Linked DNA regions of Homo sapiens: regions 2, 3 and 4 are each linked to region 1. The links are contacts of gene promoters, found by promoter capture Hi-C in human tissues and cell types (Jung and others, 2019). All regions are on one chromosome and are shown on one strand. The core of a region is centred on a gene start or on the middle of the fragment in contact, and the rest is flanking DNA. Distances in the headings are between cores, read along the strand shown.

Evidence for each region. Contacts are between HindIII fragments. The study calls those that stand out against the background at their distance.
Region 2: a contact is called between the fragment with the promoter of ERGIC3 here and the fragment with the promoter of GGT7 in region 1, in 1 of the 25 tissues and cell types used here (mesenchymal stem cells).
Region 3: a contact is called between the fragment with the promoter of CEP250 here and the fragment with the promoter of GGT7 in region 1, in 3 of the 25 tissues and cell types used here (aorta, dorsolateral prefrontal cortex and spleen).
Region 4: a contact is called between the fragment with the promoter of CPNE1 here and the fragment with the promoter of GGT7 in region 1, in 1 of the 25 tissues and cell types used here (dorsolateral prefrontal cortex).

The regions. Positions count from the first base shown.
Region 1 is chr20:34,871,296-34,874,381 of GRCh38, forward strand. It overlaps GGT7 (gamma-glutamyltransferase 7), which reads right to left and starts at 1,561. Exons shown (of 15, transcript NM_178026.3): 1 at 1,352-1,561. The coding sequence starts at 1,520. RefSeq lists a silencer at 1,443-1,732. The HindIII fragment of the contact is 17,400 bases long and covers 1-3,086 here.
Region 2 is chr20:35,540,504-35,543,575 of GRCh38, forward strand. It overlaps ERGIC3 (ERGIC and golgi 3), which reads left to right and starts at 1,575. Exons shown (of 13, transcript NM_015966.3): 1 at 1,575-1,682; 2 at 1,820-1,890; 3 at 2,010-2,097; 4 at 2,319-2,438. The coding sequence starts at 1,595. RefSeq lists an enhancer at 1,247-1,336. The HindIII fragment of the contact is 35,337 bases long and covers 1-3,072 here.
Region 3 is chr20:35,453,945-35,456,877 of GRCh38, forward strand. CEP250 (centrosomal protein 250) reads left to right here and starts at 1,654. Exons shown (of 35, transcript NM_007186.6): 1 at 1,654-1,807. MIR1289-1 (microRNA 1289-1) reads right to left here and starts at 153; the gene lies at 10-153. It also overlaps a transcript of GDF5 not described here. RefSeq lists enhancers at 589-638, 899-1,048 and a silencer at 1,069-1,448. The HindIII fragment of the contact is 9,261 bases long and covers 1-2,933 here.
Region 4 is chr20:35,662,965-35,666,248 of GRCh38, forward strand. CPNE1 (copine 1) reads right to left here and starts at 1,936. Exons shown (of 16, transcript NM_152925.3): 1 at 1,796-1,936. RBM12 (RNA binding motif protein 12) reads right to left here and starts at 1,936. Exons shown (of 3, transcript NM_006047.6): 1 at 1,796-1,936. RefSeq lists enhancers at 645-764, 759-1,264, 1,105-1,154, 1,475-1,584, 1,769-2,273 and 1 more and a silencer at 1,503-1,797. The HindIII fragment of the contact is 6,796 bases long and covers 420-3,284 here.

The DNA.
Region 1 (3,086 bases), core at 311-2,810:
TAAGGCCCAGGACAGGGTAGGTGTGCCTGTTGTCGCTTGGTGAGTCAGGGCTGTATTAGGACCAGAAGTCTCACTCCTGACTACTGAATAAAAGGCCTAGCTTCAGGCTGATATCCATCATGACACATCTTCCCACTCCTCTCCCTGCTACCTCCTGATTCCACTCCCTTTGGAAAATAAGTTTTGATCCGCAGCCCTGACATTTGACGCCCATAAACCTCTAAACTCCATCTTCATTATCTCCTCACCCCCACCCCATACAGAGTGCAGTCCAGTCAGGTTGGCAAGGGCTGCTGGTCAGGGCCAGATGACCAGAAAGTGTAGAGGAGGAGAGAATTTGGGGCTTTCAGGCTGGGAGCAGCTAGGGAAGGGCCAAGCCGGAAAAGCAGCATCTGCCAGGCTGGTAAGAGACAAGGCTCAAGTGCAGGCACTGCGAGGAAGCGAGAGTGAGGTAGAAGGATGCTCTAATGCCAGGAAGTGACGTGCAGGGACAGAGGGATGGGGGATGAAGGATGAAGAATGGAGGGGAGGATGAAGCTGGGCCACATGGCTAGGAGGAAGAGCAGCAGGGAAGGAATGCACAGAGAGCTCTTTGCCCCCAGGTCTCTTCCAATCCCTGTCTCCTCCTTCTCTTACCCCCACTTCTCACAATTCCAGCAGAGGGCTGAGGGGAACACAGTAAAATTCTGGAGACTGCTTCCTAGGGAGCAGAGTACCTTACTAATACCCCGGCCAGATCCATGGCTCAGGGAGGGGTGGGGTAATCCACAGGAGAGTGAAGGCGTTCTAGTCCCCAAGGACTTTTGAGAGGTCATGCAGTCCATGCCTCCGTCTCCCAACACCCAACAGAGGGGAATCATATTCTCTTTACCCCTCCCTAGACATGAAGAGATTCTCCGCTTCTCCCAGACCCTCTGCTTCTCACAATCCCTGGCTGTGGGGAACTTCTCTTAAGGCACAGATTGGATCCCTCTTGCTGCAGTCTCTGACTTGGTTTCTCCTATCCTGTCCTCTGTGGCTAGAGAAAGCCCTCTTCTGGGTGATCACAGCGGTTCCTTAGGATCTCCCCTTCAACATTCCTTCATCGTTAGTTGGTTCTTCCCAGAAGGTAAGCCCAATCCCTTCTACTGCAGTCCCTAGCATCCTCTCCGTTGTCGCATCCTACGCCTCCAAGGCAGAAATGCACCCCCTTCCTCACCAAATAATTAACAGAGACAAGGGAGAAGAAGGGAGAGATCCAAGAAGATGGGGATGAATTAAGGAGATGGAGCTGGAGGTGGATGCTTGACACAGAAGAAGGAAGACCGGGGACTTCCCAAGGCAGGGCAGGGACGGGGTCAGCGGGCCTCACCGGTGTCGGGGTCTCCCAGAAAGGCGTCCTCGTCCTTGCGGCCCCTCAGCGGGGCCGCGGGCGCCGGCTCGTCCTCGGGCAGCCGCGGGAAGCTGGTGATGCTCATGTAGTCCACTGGCGAGTAGGCGCCCAGGGCGCTCTCCTGGCTGGCCTCGTTCTCCGCCGCCATCCTCGCCCGCGCCCCCCAGCAGCGCAGCGCCTGCCGGAAGTGGCTGCGGCGGGGGAGTGGGAGGGCGGAGGGCGGGGCCTGATCTTCGCGACAGCCGGGAGGGGGCGCCTCTCCCAGCCCTCGGCCGTGTCCCGGTCTGACTCGCCCCCGTCTGCTCAGCGCTATCAGCCTGCAGCTGGCACACAGGTGCGTGTAGATGGACAGCCAGGAAGGCAGCGCAGGGTCGAGGGGAGAGCGCGGGGCAAGCGAGACTTCAGTGGCTCTGCACTTTACGCAGCTCAGGGACCAAACCCCTTCCTCCTTCCAGCCTGAATACAGCTAGTGTCCTCCTCAAATCCCAGGCTTCCTTTTCGGGCCCCAGACCCTTTCACTGACCGCAAATCCCTCTCGACCCCAGATCCTGTCTCTGACCCCAAACTCCTCGGACCCCAGACCCCTCCTTGAATTCCGAGATCCTCCTCCTCCGATTTTAGACTCCTCCTCCGACCTTAGACCTCTTTTTCGACTTCAGACTCTGTCTTCACCCCCAAACCCTTTTGAAAACCCCAGCCCATGCTTCATCTCCAGGCCTCTTTGACTGCAGACGCCTCTTTGGACAACAGATCCCTCCTCTGACCTCAGATCCCTTCCCGCACCCCGACACTTCTGACTCCTCTTTCAACCGCATTCTCAAACTTTAGTGTGTGTTAGGATCTTTGAAAGCGGATCCCCAGATTCCACTCCAGAGATCATGATTCAGTAGGCTGGGATGAGGTCCTTGGAACCTGAATATTTACCATCATTTTAAGAGTTTTTGATGTGGTTCTGGAAAGGACACTTTGAGAAAGAAGGAGTGGTGGTAGTGATGGTAGGGCAGGAGTGGGGCAAGGTGGGGAATAGGTCTCCATATTCTGGATGTCTGGGTTCTATTCTGCCACCGCTCAAACACTGTGTAATCTTGGGCAAGACAATTAGTCTCTCTATCAGTTTCCCCATCTGTGAAATGGAAAGAATAATAGTACCCATTTTAGAGGGTTGTCATGAGGATTAAGTAACAGAATGGAAAGCGATTAGTATAGGGCTTGGCACCTACTCAATAAATGGCATCATCATCATCATCATCATTGCCTTAATCTGGTAGATTCATTCCCTCCAAACTCATCCATCCTCTCTCCACTCCAAAATTCCAACCACACTACAGCTTGTACTACTTCTCCATATCCAAGGATGAGGGAGGTTCCTTCTTTTACGAGGTCTCTGTTCCAAACTTTCATTGTGAAGTCCACAGGAAGAGAGGGGGGCTGGTGAAGCCTCTATACACACATCCTTTCTCTTCCCAACCCCAGACCAGTCTCAGGGATGGCCTGAAGTGCTTGAAAAATCTACTATATACACAGCAGCTGCAGTAGCAACTATAGACAGGAGGGGGAAGCAGTGTGTCGGGAACAGCTCTGGGGTTTGGGTGTAGGACTTGGGAGAGAGGATAGGAAGGAGAGGGCTACTCAGAGCTGTGTGGTAAGAGTGCCCAGGGAGGGTAACAGTCTATCACCAAAAAGTGTACCCATTGTCTGTGCCTTTCCCCACCCC
Region 2 (3,072 bases), core at 325-2,824, 670 kb after region 1:
GGCTAATTTTTGTATTTTTAGTAGAGATGGGGTTTCACCATGTTGACCAGGCTGGTCTCAAACTCCTGAACTCAAGTGATGCTTCCTGGCTCGGCCTCCTGAAGTGCTAGGGTTACAGATGTAGTTTTTAAAGTTTTTGTAGAGTGGGGTCTTGCTGTGTTGCCCAGGCTGGTCTTAGACTCCTGGCCTCATGTGATCCTCCTCGGTCTCCCAAAGTGCTGTGATTACAGGTGTGAGCCATTGTGCCCAGCCCAATTTTTAATTAAAAAATGGAATGATGGAATGCACATTACTTTGCATCTTTTCCCCCTTAAAAATACATTCTTAGTATACCTAAAGGAGTAAATCTACCTCATTCTTTTGAAAAGTGGCCTAATATTCCATAGAATGGGTGTATCGTGATTTATTCAATTTATTTAATGTATCAGTGGGCATTCTGGCTGGTTCCAGATTTTTGCCATTGAACAATCTCATGCATACATCTTTATGATGTGGTGCACTTAAAATCTTTAAGAGACAGATTCAATATCTTAAGGTGTAACAACCACCCAGATCATGGTACTTTTATCCTTATATTAAAATTTTTTTCTGTTAACCTTGGATAGCTGCTTACATATTTTTTCTTTTTCAAAATTTTTCTATTAACCTTGACATGGTGCTTTTACTTCCTAAAGTGGAATTCCTGTATGAAAGCCTATGAGCTTTTATATCTTACTCATTGCAGCTGCATTACTGTGGGAGCTGTCCCTCTAGAGACACTGGGCTGCAATGGGAAGTGTCAGGGAGAGCTTAAGCTCCATATCACTTGAGTCTAAACCTGGAGGGATAGAGCGTGTCCGTGAGGATCCCAGGGCCTGGAGAGCAATTTAGGGTAATATTCAGAAAGCAGCGCTCAGGAGAAGCACTGGGACGCTGTTTAGGTAAAATCAACCCAAAAGACCCTGATTCCCAGAGTACTTTGAGGTCCAGAAGAACTGGGCTGGAAGCAGGTCCTGCTATTAATTGGCTGTGATCTTGGGCAAGTTATTTAACTTCTCCAGGTCACAGTTTGCTCTTTGGAAAACGGAGATAAGTCACACCTGCTTTCAGGGCGGACACCCTTACTTTACATCAGAATCATCCGATGCCATTCCTAGCGTTTCGGCTTCAGTAGGTGGGAATCAATTATTTGCATTTCTAATAGGTAATCAGTTGATAATGATGCGGCCGGTCCGGTACACTCGAAAAACCACTGTTCCAGGATATTCCAAGATGTTCCAAGAGTCTTAAACACCTGGTGCAGTTCCGAGCACAAGGCACACGAACGGTGCTATTAGCGTTTCTAACCCCGCAGAGAACTCCTCGCACCCCAGTCCTCAAAATCCCGCCCCGGACAGCGGAGGCCGGGGCAGTAGCTTCCAGACCCAATTGCCCGCGCAAGGGGGCGTGGCAGCATCGTTGGGCGGGGCCGCCTGTAAGAGAACGCGGCTAAAGGTGGGGCCAAGCGTGCGGTTTGCTGCGCCTGCGTGAGGAAAAAGAGGGGGGCGTGGCTCCAGGCCGGAAGAGGGAGTCTGTAGGGGCGGGCCGGCTGGCGTCCCCTTTCCGGCCGGTCCCCATGGAGGCGCTGGGGAAGCTGAAGCAGTTCGATGCCTACCCCAAGACTTTGGAGGACTTCCGGGTCAAGACCTGCGGGGGCGCCACCGGTAGGCCGCAGCGGGGCCGGGGTCGCGTGGAGGGGGGCGTCCTAGAGCTTAGCCCGGGCTCCTGGACTCTGACTGGCCTGCCGGTGTCTGAGGGAGCGGATTCGAGGCCATTCTGACCCTCGCCCCTTGTCCTGCAGTGACCATTGTCAGTGGCCTTCTCATGCTGCTACTGTTCCTGTCCGAGCTGCAGTATTACCTCACCACGGAGGTAAGGGGCGGGGCTTAGTGCGTGGGCGGGGCTTGGCATTCTAGGAGTAGGACCTTTAGGGGTGGGAGTGGGGAAGGAGAGGTTTGGGGCTAAGTCTTACTGAGGTAGCGCTGCCCCAGGTGCATCCTGAGCTCTACGTGGACAAGTCGCGGGGAGATAAACTGAAGATCAACATCGATGTACTTTTTCCGCACATGCCTTGTGCCTGTGAGTACCTCACCATGGGTGGGACTGGAGAGACCCAGGGTTCTCATGTGGGCTGCCAGATTCACACCTCCACCCTTAGGTTCTGGACTGGACCCCAGGACAACCTCCTTCTCCTCATCCCGTTCTGCCCCAAGACAGGCCCAGTATCCCCTTCCCCTCCAAAACCCACATCCCCTTGTCCCTAGGGTCCCAGTACCTTAGCCTGATTTTCCTGCTTCCAGATCTGAGTATTGATGCCATGGATGTGGCCGGAGAACAGCAGCTGGATGTGGAACACAACCTGTTCAAGCAACGACTAGATAAAGATGGCATCCCCGTGAGCTCAGAGGCTGAGCGGCATGGTAACCAGGGGAGGGGGCCGGGTCTCAGATCCCAAAGCTGGATGTACCCAAGCCTATCTGCTAGCAAGTGAACTGTGGCAGGCATAGTGATACATTAAACAACTAAGAGCTAGAGAAGTCAAGTGACTTGCCTAGGGTCCCCCAGCTAGTAAGAGTCAGAGTGAGCTAAAATCCTCTATACATATCGAGTCAGGTAATCTACCTGGCTATTATTCTCAGAGGTCCTCAATACCTGCAGATGGTAGTTTGAATACCAGAGGTTTGAAGATAGGTCTTATGTGCTCTTGCCTTGGTAGAACTGTCTAGATGGACCCAGGCTTCTTTGAGTGTTTGCTTTCCCAGCCCATTGGCTTAATTCAGCCCTTAATGCTCTTCCCCTTTGGAATGCAGGTGGTTTAATGAGAATTTAGGTTCTCAAGTCAGATTGCCTGGGTTCACATCTAGCTTTGTCTCCTGCAGTCTGTGAGCTTCAGCTAGAAAGTGGTAATAAAACAGTAGTACCAACCACATGGAATTGTAAGATCAAATGAAGTCATATGTGTAAAATGCCTGGTACAGAGTGGGTACCCACTTTTACCTTCCTTTCCTTTATCTTGGTGGCTTCCCAATTCCCTTCGTTAACTCAGTTTCCCAC
Region 3 (2,933 bases), core at 404-2,903, 580 kb after region 1:
CCTAAAACGTGTTCCCAATTATCAGAATCACCCTGGGTACTTTCTAAAATGCAGATTCCTGGACTCCACCCCCGGTTTAGGGATTCTCTGGGGGTGGAAACCAAGAGTCTGCATTTACCAGTTTTGTTTTTAATTCCTACTAAAAATTGAGAACCACTGAGTGCAAGAGTGAGGCAGGTAAATGGAGTTTACAACTCTAAGAAAGTGCATTAACAATTTATACACAAGGCCGGGCGCGGTGGCTCACGCCTGTAATCCCAGCCCTTTGGGAGGCCGAGGCGGGAGGATCACGAGGTCAAGAGAGATCGAGACCATCCTGGCCAACATGGTGAAATCCTGTCTCTACTAAAAATACAAAAATTAGCCGGGCGTGGTGGCGGGCGCCTGTAGTCCCAGCTACTCGGGAGGCTGAGGCAGGAGAATTACTTGAACCTGGGAGGCAGAGGTTGCAGTGAGCCGAGATCGTGCCAATGCACTCCAGCCTGGCGACAGAGCAAGACTCCATTTCAAAAAAAAAAAAAAAAATTTATACACAAAATGCTACAGGAATAACGCATGGGTCCTATTGGGAAGAAAAAGTTCTCTAGAAGTCAGGCTTAAGCAGAACTGCAGCTCCGGGACGGATTAAGTCAGGTAAAGGTAACACTCTGTGCAGAGACATGCAGACAAAACCGAGTGTTGAGTAAGTAACTCGCCTGTAAGTGTTATGCTGCCTGAAGCTTCTCGGAGCGTCTGAGCAGCAAGGTGAACAACCCTCAGAAACCGGTCGCGCTGCCAGTATTATCGCTAACCAGTGGCAGCGAGCCCCTTTGTTTCTCGGCAGTTGTAATTGTAGTCTGGTTTGTAGGTGGAGCTGTGCGCAGGCGCACCTAGAACCAGGTGACCTTGCACATGCGCTGTATGTAACACTGAAGCCAAAAGCGAAATGATTGAGGGCAATTTTTCTTTTCTGCTTCCGAAATGTCCCTTTCGCGAATCCAGAGACCCTGACCGTCCCCATTTCTGGCTAGGGATCTTATAATTCTTAAAATAATACCCCCTTTCCTTCAGGGCCTCTCTAGTAAGTCGGCTGCCAATACCCAACATGGCGGGAGGCCCTGCGCCGGCTCAGTCTGCCTATAGGTGCAGGACTTGGAGGGGCGGGCCCCTCCCAAAGGGCGGGAGTTTGGGGGGGCGGGGCCTGGCCCTCTGCCTCGGGGTGGGCTCCGCCCCCGTCCCCCGCAGGGCCTTAGCAGCGGCTGCCGCAGCTCAATCGCGGAGCAACTAGCCGGGCGTCTGCGGGAGCCGAGCGTGGTGAGGTGGGGCCTCAGGGGCAGGTGGGAGGTGCTCGGGTTAACCGTCCGAGGCCCGGAGACCCGCCCGTCTAGGGCGCCTGAGGGAATCCCGTTCGGGCAGCGGCCTCTTGTTACCCGGGAGGAACCCGAGGCCCAGAGAGGGGCTGGGACGCGTCGTTAGGGCCCGGGGCCCGCTTGCCTCAGCTTCTTGCTGCCGCCAGCACGCTAAGCTCCAGTCGGCGCCGAAGGAGAGCTTCCCGACCCTCGTGTCCAGTAGCCGCAATCCCAGGCTGGGAGGGTGAGGCGCCGCGCTCTGCCGCCCCCCCGCCCCTCGCTCCCTGTGTCCTGGCGGATTTGCACGTAATCTATCCGAAAGCCCAGTCCCACCCGCCACCCGACTCTGGAGCTCCCATTCTTCAGGACCCTGCTGAAGTATCGCTTCTCAGCCGCCTTCTCCAGGCGCAGCTGCATTCGCTTCTCGGTTTTTGCACTCGCTGTGCACCGAGTTACTTTCCCGGCCCCTCGTTGACACCGTAAGCTCGTTCGTTAGATGTTATGCCTTGCCTTTTTCATCTCTAGATCCCAGGGCCTAGCACGTGATGATAATAGTCATGGCTTACTGTACGGAATGATCACAAATTGTCAGGTGCTACTGAATGCATTACACATAAGGGCCCATTTATTTATTTATTTAGAGACGGAGTTTCGCGCTTGTTGCCCAGGCTGGAGTGCAATGGCGCGATCTCGGCTCACCTCAACCTCCGCCTCCCGGGTTCAAGCGATTCTCCTGCCTCAGCCTCCCAAGTAGCTGGGATTGCAGGCATGCGCCACCACACCCGGCTAATTTTATGTTTTTAGTAGAGACGGGGTTTCTCCATGTTGGTCAGGCTGATCTCGAACTCCCGACCTCAGGTGATCCGCCCGCTTCGGCCTCCCAAAGTGCTGGGATTACAGGCGTGAGCCACCGCGCTCAGCCAAAGGCCTATTTAATCTTCCCAACAATCCTATGGGGTGAGTTCTTTCTATAGCTTCACGTTTTACCCATGAAGAAACTGAGGTATTCATAGAAAAAGTAATTTGCCAGGAGTCCCACAACTAATAAGTGGATGGAGCTGGGAAACTGTCCCCAGGGCATTTGATGACTTGACTAGATTGCCTTTGGGTTTAATCAACGTCTGTTGAATTGATCTTTACTTTGGCCCTGGGAGTTATTGGAGGCTAGGCTTGTGATCAGTATTTTACCGCGAAGGCTTAGAAAGGAGAACTGGTCCCAGATTTATAGAGGTCACAACAAAACCAAGGCTACTGGTACGCCCTCTGTTCCTTTAGTTCTTCTATCTTTCTTTGCTCCTTTTCGATCAGAAAGCTGCAGACATAGGTGTCATTATCGCTCACTATTTAAGAAGTGCCCCTCACAGAGCTGTGAGTTCGTAGTCCATGCTTTAACTAATGTAATGTTCATGCTTTAACAGCTAATGTAATGGAGAGAGTGTAGAATTTGGAATCAGATTGGGGTTCAGTCATTGCTCTGCCACTGACCAAGCTATAAGTTATATGCCTCCCCCCACTTTTTTTTTTTTTTTTGAGACCTGGTCTCAGTCACCCAGGCTGGAGTGCAGTGGTGCGATCTGGGTTCACTGGAACATCCTGTCTCCCAGG
Region 4 (3,284 bases), core at 686-3,185, 790 kb after region 1:
GTAATCACATTTAATCGAGCATATATAAAAATGTATTCCCTGTTTCATTAAAAATCTGTCCAATAATATATACTAAGCACATCTTCATTGTTTTGTATAAACACGCCAAACATTTCACTTTCTTCATAAATTACCATAACGTTATTTGAACCACCTGTAACAGTTCTTCCCAACTTTTTATACTCTTTGAAAATGTCTGCACACTTTCCACTAAATCCAGAAATCCTCCATTCTTATCAAAACTGCCAAATTTCAAAAACAAGTACAACCAGTCTTGTATTGTAGTTCTATAATTTAAAAAACAAGATTTCCCTATGTGTCCAGACTTGAGGGATTTTTCTCGACTGCAAATGCTCTGAGATGCATTAACAATATACACTAGTTAACAAGGTCCCAGACAATTCTTGTTGCTAAGACTGCATTTTGCAAAAATTACACCATTTCAAACCATTCAAGCAAGAAGCTCTAAAATACTGCAGTCACAAGCCTAGCCTCTCCCTTCAACAAACCTTCAGTTGCCATCACACTTTTTTCCAGTGGGTTATACTGACTCTATTATTGAATAATATAAAACGGTCCCTACCAACTTCTTCAATTTATATTAGGTTATCTCTGAGAATCCTGGAGCCAAGGAGGGTTTTAGGGCCCAGAAATCTCTTAAAGTCTGCAATTCTCAGCATGACACCACGCAGATGAGTAAATGTTTAGCACTTAATACTGAGTAACCCTCACAAGAGCCCCTCAGATTTGTCACTATAAAGCACACGTTGGAGGCACACAAAAAGCCCGTACGTTTACAACCTAGCAGCTAAGCCTGCTGCACTGGCGTCCAACCCCGTCACTAACCTGTAGATCCTCAAAGTCCCTCCCACCACCCAATTCACGTGGCTGCAAACTAATGCAGCCAAGCTTCAGAGAAACTCAATTAACTCTCCATCAAAAGCACCCACCCTCCGCAGCCCACTGGATCTCGTCCTCCTGAAATGCCACAGGATCCTCTCCCGAGGGAGCCGTAAATGTGCTGCTCACAGCAGCCCCTTCCCTACTGGGGGACCAAAGGCCTGGCATCTTACTACAATTCTCAGAGCCTCAGGAGGCGTACTCACCCCACCCCCTCACCTCCTAGCTTCAGACGCCGGCTTCTCAAAACTGCTACACCCTCGAGTAAAGCCCCTCCCCAGCAATGGACCTCGGAGGCATTTCACTGCAAACCCCTCCACCTTCAGGCCACGAAGGCGGCCGGTTGTGACACTTCCTTTCTGAACTCACAGGAGTGTACCGACTACAGCTTCCTCCCCACAGGTGTGACCTGGGTCCCCTTTTGCTGGTAGGCCACAAAGGCCTCCTTTCCATTTCGGGTTGAAGGAGTGTCCTCACTACGATTATCTCCCCACCTCCAGGCACAGAGATGTAGTTATAACCTCTGCTTCACTGGGGGAGACAAGAAATCCTCCGTACTCGGGATGTAGGCGTGTTTTTACTGCAGTCCCCGTTAGCTCGCAGGCCGCTGAGCCAGCCAGCTCTGGCCTGCCCCCTCTCAGACCACGGGGGAGTCCTCGCTATGGCCTCGTCCCCACTTCGGTACGCAGGCTCATCCTCTTGCGTCCTCCTTGCATCCTCTCAGATCTCAGAGGCCTAAGTGGCATCCCACTCCCCCTGCAGCCCTGCCTCGACCCTTTGTGTGGGGCGCTAGTTGCCGCGGGCTCGAAGGCCTCCGAAGGCCCCGCCCCGGGCCACCAAGGGGCACCACGAGCCCCGCACAGCCCCACCCGTTCAGGGGCTGCGGGAGTCTTACCGGGGAAAGCTGCGCGGCACCAGAACCCAGACCCCGAATTACCCCCCGCGCGAGTGCCTCCGCCCCGCGGCCGACAGCCCCAGCCCGAACGGCTTCCCGGAGCCCAACGCAGCCACCACCTCCTTCGCCGCTTCACAAAATGGCCGTCGGCCCGCTCAGCGGCTCCGCGTTCCAGAAGGGGGAGGAACGGCGTGGTTGACGTCAAGGGGCCGCGCAAGCGCGCTGACGGTCTCGGGCGATCTCCCGGAAGTTACTGGGTTTTGTGCTAAGAGGGGGATATTCAGTCCCTGCTTGCGACTGTTGGCGCACAGGACCGACCTTGGGCTAGTGGCCCTGGCGGGTGGGCTGGGTATGAGTGTCTAGCTTGGCCCTTCACTGCAAGACTGTGCAAATTGCTTCACGTCTTCCAGTTTCCGCGGAAGGAGCGAATTGTGCTTACCTCTAAGTTTTTTGAGGATTAAATGGACCACAACGTGGTGGCTAGTTATTATATCCTGACAAAACAGCCAAAACCTGATTCTTTTTTCCCATTTAAGAGTTTATACAGGCCGGGGGCCGGGCGCGGTGGCTCACGCCTGTAATCCCAGCACTTTGGGAGGCCGAGGCGGGCGGATCACGAGGTCGGGAGATCGAGACCATCCTGGCTAACACGGTGAAACCCCGTCTCTTCTAAAAAATACAAAAAATTAGCCGGGCGTGGTGGCGGGCACCTGTAGTCCCAGCTACTCGGGAGGCTGAGGCAGGAGAATAGCGTGAACCTGGGAGGCGGAGCTTGCAGTGAGCCGAGATTGCGCCACTGCACTCCGGCCTGGGCGAAAGAGCAAGACTCCATCTCAAAAAAAAAAAAAAAAAAAAAAAAAGTTTATACAGGCCGAGCGCGGTGGCTCACGCCTATAATCCCAGCACTTTGGGAGTCCGAGAAGGGCGGATCATGAGGTCAGGAGTTCGAGACCGGTCTGGCCAACAAGGCAAAACCCAGCCTCTACTAAAAATACAAAAACTAGCTGGGTGTGGTGGCGGTGCTTGTGGTCCCAGCTACTTGGGAGGCTGAGGCAGGAGAATCGCTTGAACCCGGGAGGTGGAGGTTGCAGTGAGCCCAGATGGCGCCATTGCACTCCACCCTGGATGACAAAAGCGAAACTTCGTCTCAGAAAAAAAAACAAAAAAAGAGTTTTAATCTAGGGCAGGGCGCAGTGGCTCACGCCTGTAATCCCAGCATTTTGGGAAGCCGAGGCGGGCGGATTACCTGAGGTCAGGGGTTCAAGACCAGCATGGCCAACATGGCGAAACCTCGTCTCTACTAAAAATACAAACATTAGCTGGGCGTGCTGGCTGGCGCCTGTGGTCCCAGCTACCAGGGTGGCTGAGGCAGGAGAATCGCCTGAATCCGGGAGGTGGCGGTTACAGTGAGCCAAGATAACGCCATAGCACTCCAGCCTAGGCGACAGAGCAAGATTCCGTCTCAAAAAAAAAAAAAAAATTAAATCCA